Regions from separate parts of the Homo sapiens genome. Here regions 1, 2 and 4 are each linked to region 3. Evidence: promoter capture Hi-C in 16 types of primary human blood cells and fetal thymus (Javierre and others, 2016). All regions are on one chromosome and are shown on one strand. Each heading gives the region's core, a stretch centred on a gene start or on the middle of the fragment in contact. The rest is flanking DNA. Distances are from core to core; before and after follow the strand shown.

What was found. The method cuts DNA at HindIII sites, captures the fragments that hold promoters and counts their contacts. A CHiCAGO score of 5 or more calls a contact.
Region 1: a contact is called between a fragment that was not itself captured here and the fragment with the promoter of HTR1E in region 3, in 1 of 17 cell types (endothelial precursors). The highest score is 6.0, in endothelial precursors.
Region 2: a fragment that was not itself captured here is called in contact with the fragment with the promoter of HTR1E in region 3 in 1 of 17 cell types (endothelial precursors); the score reaches 7.8 in endothelial precursors.
Region 4: a fragment that was not itself captured here is called in contact with the fragment with the promoter of HTR1E in region 3 in 1 of 17 cell types (endothelial precursors); the score reaches 5.2 in endothelial precursors.

The regions. Positions count from the first base shown.
Region 1 is chr6:85,790,103-85,792,999 of GRCh38, forward strand. No RefSeq gene overlaps it. Among named protein-coding and RNA genes, the nearest start is that of SNHG5, 110 kb to the left of the region's middle. The HindIII fragment of the contact is 3,544 bases long and covers 1-2,897 here.
Region 2 is chr6:85,825,129-85,828,247 of GRCh38, forward strand. No RefSeq gene overlaps it. Among named protein-coding and RNA genes, the nearest start is that of SNHG5, 150 kb to the left of the region's middle. The HindIII fragment of the contact is 3,718 bases long and covers 1-3,119 here.
Region 3 is chr6:86,936,265-86,939,178 of GRCh38, forward strand. HTR1E (5-hydroxytryptamine receptor 1E) reads left to right here and starts at 1,264. Exons shown (of 2, transcript NM_000865.3): 1 at 1,264-1,559. RefSeq lists enhancers at 1,048-1,603, 1,604-2,158. The HindIII fragment of the contact is 4,175 bases long and covers 343-2,914 here.
Region 4 is chr6:85,879,868-85,882,785 of GRCh38, forward strand. No RefSeq gene overlaps it. Among named protein-coding and RNA genes, the nearest start is that of SNHG5, 200 kb to the left of the region's middle. The HindIII fragment of the contact is 1,892 bases long and covers 387-2,278 here.

The DNA of each region.
Region 1 (2,897 bases), core at 275-2,774, 1.1 Mb before region 3:
ACATAGCAAATAGATCTTCCCTCAGAGCCTTCAGAAGGAATCAACCCTGCCAATACCCTAATTTTGAACTTTTGGTCTCCAGAAATTTGAGAAAATAAATTTTTGTTGTTGTAAGCCACCAAGTTTGTGGTAATTTGTTATGGAAGCCCTGGGGAAAAGAGACAATCTTGAAACAGCCTTGCATGCACAAGAATGGACTCCCCAGCTCAGGCATCACAACTGTGACCTCACCCCATGAAATCAATTGTCCTTTGGTTACCCCTTAAGCCAACAGATGTGTACACCAGCTCAGTCACCTGTCAAAACAGACCTGAGGATGAGGCCCATTTTGGTCCTTTCAGGCTGCTATAACAAATGTTCTTAATCTACTTAATTTATAAATAACAGAAATTTATTGCTCACAGTTCTGGAGGCTGTGAAGTCCAAAATCAAGACACTAGCAGATTGATGTCTGGTAAGAAATAGCCCTCTCTGCTTCTAAGATTGTTCCTTCTTGCTATGTACTCATATGACAGAAGGGATGAACAAGAAACCATGGGTCTTTTTTCTAAGGGAATTCATCCCATTCATGAGGGCTCCATCCATGTGGCTTAATCACCTTCCAAAGACCTCATTTCTTAATACTACTGCATTAGGAATTAGGTTTTAACATATGAATTTTGGGGGACACAAACATTCAGACAATAACAAGGCTCAAGCCGGCTTGAAAGTGGCTTGAGGTTGTTGAGACAGGGAGTTCTGGGTATGCATATATAATCTTGAAGGATGTAGGTTCTGATTGATACCTCCCTTTGGCCTTGTGGAATCCTTGCCCCATAGACAGCTGAAGGAGTATCAGAGTGGAACTTGCCAAAAGCTCCTTGCTTAGTTCTAAGAGTGTGTGTTGGTTAATTTTATATGTCAACTTGACTGGGCTAAGGAATACCCAGATAGCTGGCAGAAAATTATTTCTGGGCATGTCTGCAAAGATGTTTCCAGAAGAGATTAGCATTTAAATTAGTCTAATAAGTAAAGCAGATCTACCCTCACAAATATGGTTGGTCATCATCCAATCCATTAAGGGCCTGCCTAGAACAAAATGTGGAGGAAGGACAAATTTACCCTTTCTGTTTGAGCTGAACCATTCATTTTTTCCAATTCTCAGACATAGATGCTTCTGGTTTATGGGCCTTCAGACTCATACTGGGATTTATATTATTGGCTCCATTGGTTCTTCAGCCTTTTGGCTTTGAGTAGAACTGGCTTTCCTGGGCCTCCAGTGTGTTGATAGCAGATTGTGGGACTTCTCAGCCTCCATAATCATTTGAGCCAATCCCTCATTATAAATCTATTTCTGTATATCTATATATGTCATATTGGCTCTGTTTCTCTAGAAAACCCTGATGAATACAAGGTGGTACTGCTAATGGTCTCTTTCTGTCTAGGTTATTTAACTTCTTAGCAGCATTTTATTCAGTTAATCACTATCTCCTCCTCTGTTCTCTGAAACACTTTTCTCATTTGGTGCCTGCGGTCTCTCACTCTCCTAGTGTTATTGCCACCTTCTTGGCCACTCTTTTCAGTTTTCTTTGCTGGTTGTTCTTCTTTAAATGTTGGAGTGCCCTACCTTCTTTATGTAGCTATACTCTATCTTTAGTATTCTCTTTTCTCTCTCCCTTTTTTTTTTTTTTAGACAGGGTCTCATTCTCTTGCCCAGAATGGAGTGTAGTGGCATGATGTTGGCTCACTGCAACCTCAACCTCCTGAACCTCCTGTGTTCAAGTGATTCTCCTGCCTCAGCCTCTTGTGTAGCTGGAATTACAGGCATGTGTCACCATACCTGGCTAATTTCTGTATTTTTAGTAGAGACGAGGTTTCACCATGTTGGCCAGGCTGGTCTCAAACACCTGACCTGGAGGTGATTCGCCTGCCTTGGCCTCTCAAAGTGCTGGGATTACAGGTATGAGCTATCGTGCCCAGCCTCCTTCTTTCTTTCTTTTTATTTTTAAAATGAAAGCAAGTTTATTAAGAAAGTAAAGAAATAAAAGAATGGGTACTCCATAGCCAGAGCAGCAGCATGGGCGGCTTGACTGGGTATACTTATTTTTTGATCATAGTGGTGGATTATTCATGAGTTTTCCAGGAAAAGTGTGGGTAATTCCTAGAACTGAGGGTTCCTCTTCTTTTTAGACCATAAAGGTTAACTTCCTGACATTTCCATGGAATTTGTAAACTGTCATAGTGTGGGTGGGAGTGTCTTTTAGCATGCTAATGCATTATAATTAGCATATAATGAGTAGTGAGGATGACTAGGTCACTTTCATTGACATCTTAGTTTTGGCGGGTTTTGGCAGGCTTCTTTACTACATCCTGTTTTGTCAGCAAAGTCTTTGTGACTTATATCTTGTACTGACCTCCTATTTCATTCTGTGACTAAGAATGCCTAACCTCCTGGGAATGCAGCCCAGTAGGTCTCAGGCTTATTTTATCCAGACTAATATGGTTTGGCTCTGTATCCCCACCCAAATTTCATGTCAAATTGTAATTTTCAATGTTGGGGGAGGTACCTGGTGGGAGGTGACTGGATTTTGGGGGTGGATTTTCCCCTTGCTGTTTTTATGATAGTGAGTGAGCGCTCATGAGATATGGTTGTTTGAAAGTGTGTAGAACTTTCCCCTTCACTCTCTCTTCCTCCTGCTCTGGCCATGTGAAGACGTGCCTTTCTTCCCCTTCACCTTCCACCATGATTGTAATTTTCCTGAGGCCTCCCCAGCCATGCAGAACTGTGAGTCAATTAAATCTCTTTTCTTTATAAATGACCCAGTTTCAGGTATGTCTTTATAGCAGTGTGAGACTCGACTAAAACACAGCCCCTATTCAAGATGGAGTCACTCTGGATGGAATGCCTCGGACATATT
Region 2 (3,119 bases), core at 326-2,825, 1.1 Mb before region 3:
GTTCTGCAAATGCTTCCAGATTTTTTTTTAACAGCTAACAGTGATACCACTGGCTCCCAGGATCCCAGGACCATGTGCAATTTGTGAAGAGCTAGGGTCAGGAATGACATCTTACAGTAGCTGGTTAGGTCTCAAAAAGGCATGTGACACTTCCTGTGCAGTTCCCTCTGGTAATCTCCCTTCTGCTTCCTAACTTAGATTCAGGGACTGGGTGAGTCAAGGTACTCTCCTGTGGCCTGGATTCATGGAAAAGTAGATTGCAGAAAGCACTTACCCTGTCCTGTATTGGCATTCACTTCTGGTTCCTAGATTTTCCTAGCCATGTGGGCTGTCTGTTTTCCTTCTTTTTCCTAGATTTTAAAGTTTCCTTTCACTTTTCTGTTTAACTCCTATGTTTTATCTTGAATAATATATTCAAAATATGATTGTCTACACATTATTTTGGTTCATCTAAGTGGATGAGGCATGCTGGAAATGCTTCCAGTCAGCCATCTTGGAAACTAAAACATTCCATATATATTACTTGATATCTGTTATGCATCTGACCCTGTGTTCAGGCCCAGATTTTAAGTTGAAGAGAAGTTGAGTCACTATTTCTTGTCACAAATTATGGTAGTGATAAACTTTCTATGCTGTGGTAAAAGTGACATTCCCTATGTATAACTTTATTTTTGATAATGGAATAAACAGTGTTGGACTCAAGCAGGAATATTCATTATTCAATCAAGGTAGTTCTTTAAGAAATAGTTGTATTATTGTTCTTTCTTAAAAATCAGTCATTTTATCTGACAAGTTACTTCTTTATTTATGTCAAAAGTAGAAGACGAGATGGGGGCTTCAAGATGGCTTACTAGAGATGCCTGGCACTTGCCTCCTCCACAAAGAGAAATTAAGCATGAATAGATAATCACATGTCCAATAGAGCATTGAAGAATACTGGAATTCAGGAGGGAAGGGACAGGGACCCTCTGAGGCATGGAAGGAGAAAAAAGCAAAGCAGCTGGCCTGGCTGAGATTGGCTTGAAGCCAGGAGGGACTCCCCATTGTGGGGAAAGGTAAGCTAGAGATTCCCAACAGTCCACATCCCCACTGTAGGTAGACTCCTGAAATCCTAGCCATGGGAGATACCCTTGGCCCTTACAGGCCCTGAAACTAGTATGGGGAACTGCCTGGAGTCCATGTGATGGCATTGTTCCAGAGAGGGAGTTTGCCCTGGGTCCCACACATCCCCTGAGACACAAGCAGCTACAGCACAGAGCCATTTTAGGAGCCCAGCCCTCACCAGACTGCATTCTCCCGAGTCCCAATAGTTCTGATATTGCCACATCCCTGGAACCATGCTGACCACCCCCAACCCATGTCCACCCAGAGGGCTGAAGTGTCATGACATTGGCTGGACTCAGTGATGCGGCTGGATTCCCAGCACTCTAGCCTATGCAGTATTCTACATCCCAGGAAATGGGTGGCGCAGTGCACCAGAGATGCCAACCCTGGGACTAAGGGAGCAAAGGTGTGTGCTCCTAAGAGTCTGAGTGCTGCCTGCCTGGGCTGTGGACTCTGATAGAAACTAGACTCCCTCCAGCAGAAGGGCCACTGTGCACCTGCATGGTCCTTCAGGGTTCCTGGGGAACAGCCCTCCCAGGAACTGTCCCAGGGCCTACCACAGGCCCGTGTGAGGTGTACTAGCTCTTGCGCACACCACCTGGTGGCCTGAGGAAAGGCTTGTCCCCTCAATGTCACTATTGCTAGTTCCTGAGAATATTTTCCAGGGATGGGGATTCGCCTACCCTGCCTGCTGCAGCTGGTATCCACGTGCACCATTGGGGGTCCTAAGGGCATGTCCACCCCATATACTGCCACTGCCAGTATATACATGTGTCATCCAGAGGCCTGAGGACAGGCCTACCCCACCACCATCACTGCCACTGATATTCAAGTGTGCCATCCAGGGACCTGGGGAGAATCCACTCCACCTGTTGGTGCCAGGGCCTGCACATGCCTTCTGGGGGCCTGAGGATGGTCATGTAACATCTTCTACCACTGGCCGCATGCATTTCCTGAGGGCCTGGGGACTGACCCACCCAGCTTGCCACTGTCACTGCTGCTGGTACCCACCTGCATATGATTCCTGGGGTCCTGGAGATTGGCCTATCCAGTCCACAGCTGCCACTGCTGGTGCTCACATGTGCCACTCAAGGATCCAAGGGTTTGCCTGATGCCCCTACTACTACTATTGATGCTATGAATATCATCCAGGGGCTTTAGGATCCACCTGCTCATTCTGCCCATCACTGCAATGGTCAATACACAAGCAAACTGCCTTGAGGCCCAGGGACTGGCCTGCCTGGATTAACTACCACTAGTTCCCATGTACACTGCACAGGAGGTCCAAGGAATGGCACGACCAGACCATTGTTGCCATCACTGCTGCCCAAGGGCTGGCCTGTCTGGAATCCCTCTCCCTAGCAAAACCTTATTACAGTCTCCACTAACAGCTGCAGCCTAAGCCACTGGAGATCTCATGGACACCACTGAGGCTGATTATAGCCAATGAAATAATACAGAGACTAAACTGCATCCATCCAGAATCAAAGCCAAAGCACTCTATCCACCCAACACTATAATTACATCTATAGGAAAAAGTCTTTCCCTACAAAGGCTATTACATAAAAGTGGAAGAAACAGGACTGGGCATGATGGCTCATGCCTCTAATTTCAGCAGTTTGGGAGGTTGAGACAGGTGGATCACTTGAGTTCAGAAGCTCGAGACCAGCCTGAATGACATGGCAAAGCCCCATCTCTATGAAAAAATATAAAAATTAGCTGGGTGTGATGGCCCATGCCTATAGTCCCAGCTACTTGTGAGGCTCAGGTGGGAGATTTGCTTGAGACTGGGAGGTGGAGGTAGCGCTGAGCTGATATTGTGCCACTGCACTCCAGCCTGGGGCACAGAGTGAGATACTGTCTCAAAAGTAAAACAAAAACAAAAACAAAAAACAAAAAGGAAAGAAACAACTGTCACACAATATGCATAGATATCAATGTAATGACACACAAAAACCATGAAAAAGCAAGGAAAGATCATACCTCCAAAGAATGCAATTATTCCAAAGAAAGAA
Region 3 (2,914 bases), core at 14-2,513:
TTCATTTGGTTTAGAATTGTCAAACTTCAAAAAATAAATAAATAACTTAAAGTGTTTTTCAAATCAGCCATAAGGCTACAAACCAGAAAGAAAAGTGTGAGGCAGGTGTTTGGGGCAGCTACCCAAGTTGCCTACATGGTTTCCAAGGTCCTTTCAACTCTAAGGTTTGTGTATCAGGCTGTCTACAGATCATACTGTCTCCATAAGATTGTCTAGTTCATTTTATGGCTAGTTTGAACAATCTGATTTTCTTTTTTACAATGGCAGGGGCTCAATCCATGTTAGGCTTCAATGTTGAGTCACCCAAGTTCTCCACAGAGAATAACCAACCAGCCGTAAGGAAGCTTCTTTTAGCAATGCCAGGATTCTGCAAAGTCCCTCCCAGCTTAACTTTTCTGACCTTGCGGCAGCAGAACAACAAAAAGAACAGCCCCTGGCACCCTCAGAAGAGCACAAAGCCCTCTGACAACCTGAGATGGCGCCCAGGTAGACTTCCCTCAAAAAAAAAAAAAATGGCAAGGCTGCTTCAGCAGGTCTTTCAGCCCCAACCACTCCACTCTCCGTCTCCTTTTCTTCACTGCTTTCCCCACCTCTCTTCCCCCCTTCCACTTTGACCCACCCCAATTTTCGTCCACTTCTCCCTCACCCCTTCCTTGTAATCTCTCTCCTTGAGGCATCCTGTGGATGTTGACTGTAATCTCCCCTGGAGGAGGGCTAAGAAATGCACCTCCAGAGGGTCTGTTTGCCATTGGAACCGCGTAGAGAAAGCGTGCAAACCCGTCAACTGCTCCCGCCGTTCCTCTCCCTCCTCAACCCAGGCTCGCTACAGAAGAAGGGAGTAGGGTCTGCCCCCTTGTTGTATCTATTTTCCCCTTCTCCGCCAGGGCTGTGGCCGGCAAGGGGCTCAGGAGGTGAGTCCCTTGCCCACACCTCCAACCCCGCTGGCCCGGTTTATAACATGGACAGCCCTGCCCTCTAGTGTCTGCAACCGGGAGCCCTAAGGCGCCATCAGCTCCAGAATTTCTCTTTTATAACCTAAGCAAGACCTGGAGTACCTCGGAGCTGCGACCTCCAGTTCACAATACCACCTGCCTCACACCCGGGCTCATCTTTTCATCCCACACCCACCACCCCCCTCTCCGTTCACGGTGTCCCGGGAGGCTGCGACCTGCGTAGATGATTTAGCAGACTGCCCCTGCCCATGCTCCTGCTCCTGCTCCTCCTCCTCCTCTTCCCCGCTCTCTCCCTCTCGCCTCCTCTTCCAGTCCAGGCGCCCAGACTCGGCGAAGCGCAGCGCCTGCCACCAGCGGTGCCTCGGGCTGCCCGGCGCGCCGCGCTCCCAGGTTCTGTCTCGCCGCACCCCGGCGGGCACTGGCGCGGGCAAGGACGCTGGCGGGGAGAACGCCCTGGGCTCAACGTACTCCAGAATCGAATGTTGAGAGAAGCAGTGCTCTGATCCAGCTCAGGAGAAAAAGGAGCGGGTTCCGAGTGAGACTTCTGGAGCCAGCTGGACGTGCCGGTTTGCCCAGTGCGGCGCGGCTGCACGCACCGTCCACAAGGTGAGGGGCGCACACCTTCCGGGACGACCTTGGCTTCCCTTCTTACCCCCACCCACTCCAGGTACTCCAGCTCTGGCTTGGGGATGTTTGCCAGCTTTGAGGCGCAAAGGCGGCGGGAGTTGGGATGCGGGGTGTCGGAGGGAGACTGAGGGTCGCCCGGGCACCGTGCCTGCACCCTGGATTATAGTACAGAGAGCATTTCTTGTTCAAACAATTCCTCAAATGTGTGAACCTGAGAATCAACATTGTGTATAACTGTGGTTTGAGCATTTCATCCTGCTTCCTTGCAAAAGGATTAGAGGCAGCTTAAAGATTAAATAGGTATGGAACGGGTGCTGGGGGGGGCCAGGGAAAACTTGAGTAGAAATCACAGGGAGGTGGTGTGCTCCAGGGACCCCGGAAGAACTGTGTGATTTCAAAGCCAGCTGATTAAAAAACCTTTGATTAGAAAGGACTGCACTGTTGCTCCAGCCCTCAGAAAATAATACTGTGCTCAGTCCTGATAAACAAAATGCCCAGGTGTGGAGGTAATGAGGCAGGCTCATTTTTTTTAAAATACAAAATAAATCTTGGAAGTAAGAGTTAAGATGAGAAGTTTGGTCTTAAGCCATCTCCACCCAATACTGCAAGGTGAGAGGCTGACCCCCTACCTAACGAAAAGGAAAGGAAATTGAGTCTAAAGGGAAGTGATTCCAGCTCCTATCACAGGATCATAGTGGTTTTGCATCTATATGTATATTTCTGCCTGTGCCCAGTTTTGGAAGAAAGGACCTTGTATTCAACCCAACGCTGCTTGTCCTTGAGTTAGAAGGATAAGGCAGATGGTGTCAGCATCCCAAGGTGTTTCTTCCTAACCTTTCTTATTGTCCTTCCTTGCCTCCTGCACCAAATCTCTTGGGGAGGGAGCAGCCCAGGAGGAAATAATAGATCGTCAAATGGGTTGGGGGAGCAGTGTTTTTTCCAAAATAATTTAGGCTCATTTTATCATTCTTATGTTTTCCCTCAAAGCTCTAAGCAGTACATCGTCCTAAGCTGAATTTAACATTGCTCCAGAATATATATTTATCATAGTTGTACATTCAGACACAATATGCATAACCTTAAACAGCCAGGATGCACTTGTGAATCAGGGGCTTCCCTTACTTAATCCTGCGCAAGAGAGGCAAAGCAGGCACGTGGGTCTGATTCCCTGTGCGGTCTCCTTCATGAGGAGCATATGTGAAATACCTTTGAAATACAGAGAAGATTGAGACAGCTTTTCTCTTTCTGGTACAGTTGCTTTCCTGCTGAATTAAATGAGATGACCCTGTCTTCAACAAATAAATGAATGGAGGCATTTGAGGCCCATTTAACAA
Region 4 (2,918 bases), core at 83-2,582, 1.1 Mb before region 3:
CCAATGTAATTGCAAAAGTCTTTTTAAGAGAAAACAGGAGGCAAGAGAGTCAGAGGAGATATGATGATGGAAGCAGAGGTTAGAGCAAAGTGAAAAAGGGATCATGAGCCTAGAAATGCAGGCAGCCTCTAAAAGATGGAACACACAAGGAAATTCTCCACTAGAGCCTTCGGAAGAAACTCAGCCCTTGCAACACCTTGATTTCAGTCCTGTGAAACTCATTTTGGACTTTGACTTCCAAAATTGTCAGCCAATAACTTTGTGTTGTTTTAGTTCACTACATTCATGGTAATTTGTTACACTAGCAATAGGAAACTAATGCATAGCCCTAGAAGATAAATCACAATTCATCTAAACAATTGTGGAAATTCCACTGACATATGCCAAGCTTTCCTTGAAGCTGTGTTGTCATGTGACTTGGCATGAAGGAAAGTCAGCTTGGGGTTGTTGAGAAAAAATTTTCTTTTATGATTCATCCATTTATCCTTTATCTCCTGCTCATGATGTTGGTTTAAGAATGTGATGTTTCAATCTGTAGCAGCAATTTTGGAACTCTGAGTTGACAGTCTACAGGTGTTAAAGTCTAAAAGCCTAAAAACCAACACATCGAAGATACCACAGTGAAAGTCCCTTAATGACATTGCTGAACCATTGTACTAAATCTAGAACCAACTGTCTCCAGATTATTATATGTTAGATGATTAACTGTCATTATTTCTTACACCAGTATTACAAGTGGAATCCAACTTGACTGATACATTTGGTATGTATGATGTGATAGATATAGTAGTTAATTAAAAATTAACCAAATATTTTCAATGAATCTCTTCAGATTTATTCTGTCCTCCATTCTGAGAAGACTGATTTCACATTAAACTGTCAAAAGACACAAAATCAACTAAAAGAAAATTCGCCTTGCTAACAATTCTAATAAAAGCACACTTTTTTCGCCAGAAATTTGAGAGAAAAATATGAACTATACCTATTTGTTAGCTTTGTGTGCAAAGTAACAAGATTATGAACTAAATAGGCAAACATTTTGATGGCAAAATAAAAACCTGGCTGATATTTCACTAATTAGAGAACCAGGAAACTAGTGAGTACATAAAGTAATAATGGAATATTATAATATGTGAAACATTTAGTATAGTTAAAGTGAATCTGATGGCAAGGCATTAATTTACCAGCTTTGATTAATTGTCTTCTGGCCTTACCTTCCATGCAGTGGAAAAATGTAGCAGTGGAAAATTGAGTTGTACTTAAATAATTTCAAGTCAATGAAGAACAGAATGGTGCAGTGAGAAATATTTAAATTATACTTTTAGATATGCAAAATCATTCATGAAGAAATTTAAAAGAATTTTAATTAATATCTGAACACTGTGATTTTCATTGGCTAAGGGAATAGCTAAGTTTATAGCTATAATTACAAACATAAATTGCTTTTCTTTCCTTCTGGATAAATAGCTTGACATGTTTATCTTGTGAATAACAGACCTTTTAAAGTTAGGATTTTGAACTTTTTTTTCCCCCTTTCCTTTCTCTACCAGTCCATCAAGTCTTCATCCCATTATAATTTTTAAAAAAGAAGTCTAGAATCTTTGGCATAGTATATGTTATATCTTTACATGTATGCTTAAAATCCAAGATAACTAGAGATAGAAAAGGGGCCATCTCTTCTTAATATCTCTGTCTCTTAAAATTACCAGTTATTAAGAACATTATCAGTTTTATACTGTTTTGAATTGCTTAACAATGAGGCTACATTCTGAGAAATGTGTCACGTGGAGATTTTGTCATTGTTGAACATGATAGAATGTACTTACATTAGCCTAGGTGGTATATATATTTTTATTTATACATATATTTTTATCTGGAAAACCAAATTTCCAGCATCATTACTAAATATCAATCATTTCCCCTACTTGATATGTGATGCCAAAATCAAGTGCAATAGATCAGGTTTTTATATATGCTCCACTATCATCTTATGAGGCCCCTGCTGTATATGTCATCTGTTGTTGACTGAAATGTTATTATGTAGTGCATGACTGTATATTCGTAATTTAAAGAATCAAATAATTTCACAATTCTTATAAGTAACAGCAAGCTCATTTCCTCCCCATTATTCCCTTTCTTCAAAAGCTACTATACTTTTCACCTCCTTAAGATGATTCTTATTTTACTATTTACCTCCATGTATCTAAGAAACATATTTATATTACTACTTCTTTAACTTTTTAGACACTATCTATTGGTTTCTCACAGTAGAAAATGAAGCTTTAATGCTCTTCTCCCCGTCTCTCCCCCAATTCACATCTCCTCTATGTCTGATAGAGTTTCATCTGAGATCTTCTTTTGCCATTGTCCTTGGGAATCCTTTTGCTTGTTTTGCTATTATTTTGTGTATCTCCACAATGCTCTTTCCTATTTTAATCCCTCATTTTAGTAGAGATACCTCTTGCGGTAGTTTTCTGAGAAAGAGTGCAATGGAGACAATTTTTTAAAGAATTTGAATGCCTTTATTTTACTTTACATTTATTTTGACAGTTTGACTAGGTATAGGATTACAGGTTGAAATAATTTTCCTTGATAATTTTGATCACAATTCCTTTTAGTTTTCGGTGTTGCCATTGATCAATATGAAGCTGTTGTGTTTCCTGATCCTTTGTAGGTGATATTTTTTCCTTCCCCTGAAAGCTTGTTTTTGTTTTCAGTGTTCTAAAATTTTCCCTCTATTATTTTGGGTGGTTGGTGGGTCATTTCAATCTGTAAAGTCTTTGTTTTCAGTTTTGGAAAATTTCCTTGTATTTTGTTTTCTTGTATTATTTCTCTGACTATTTACTTCCTCTTGTCTCTTTTGCAAGGATTCCTATTACTCGGATGTTAAACCTCTGTCATAGCCAGTTTCTGAAATG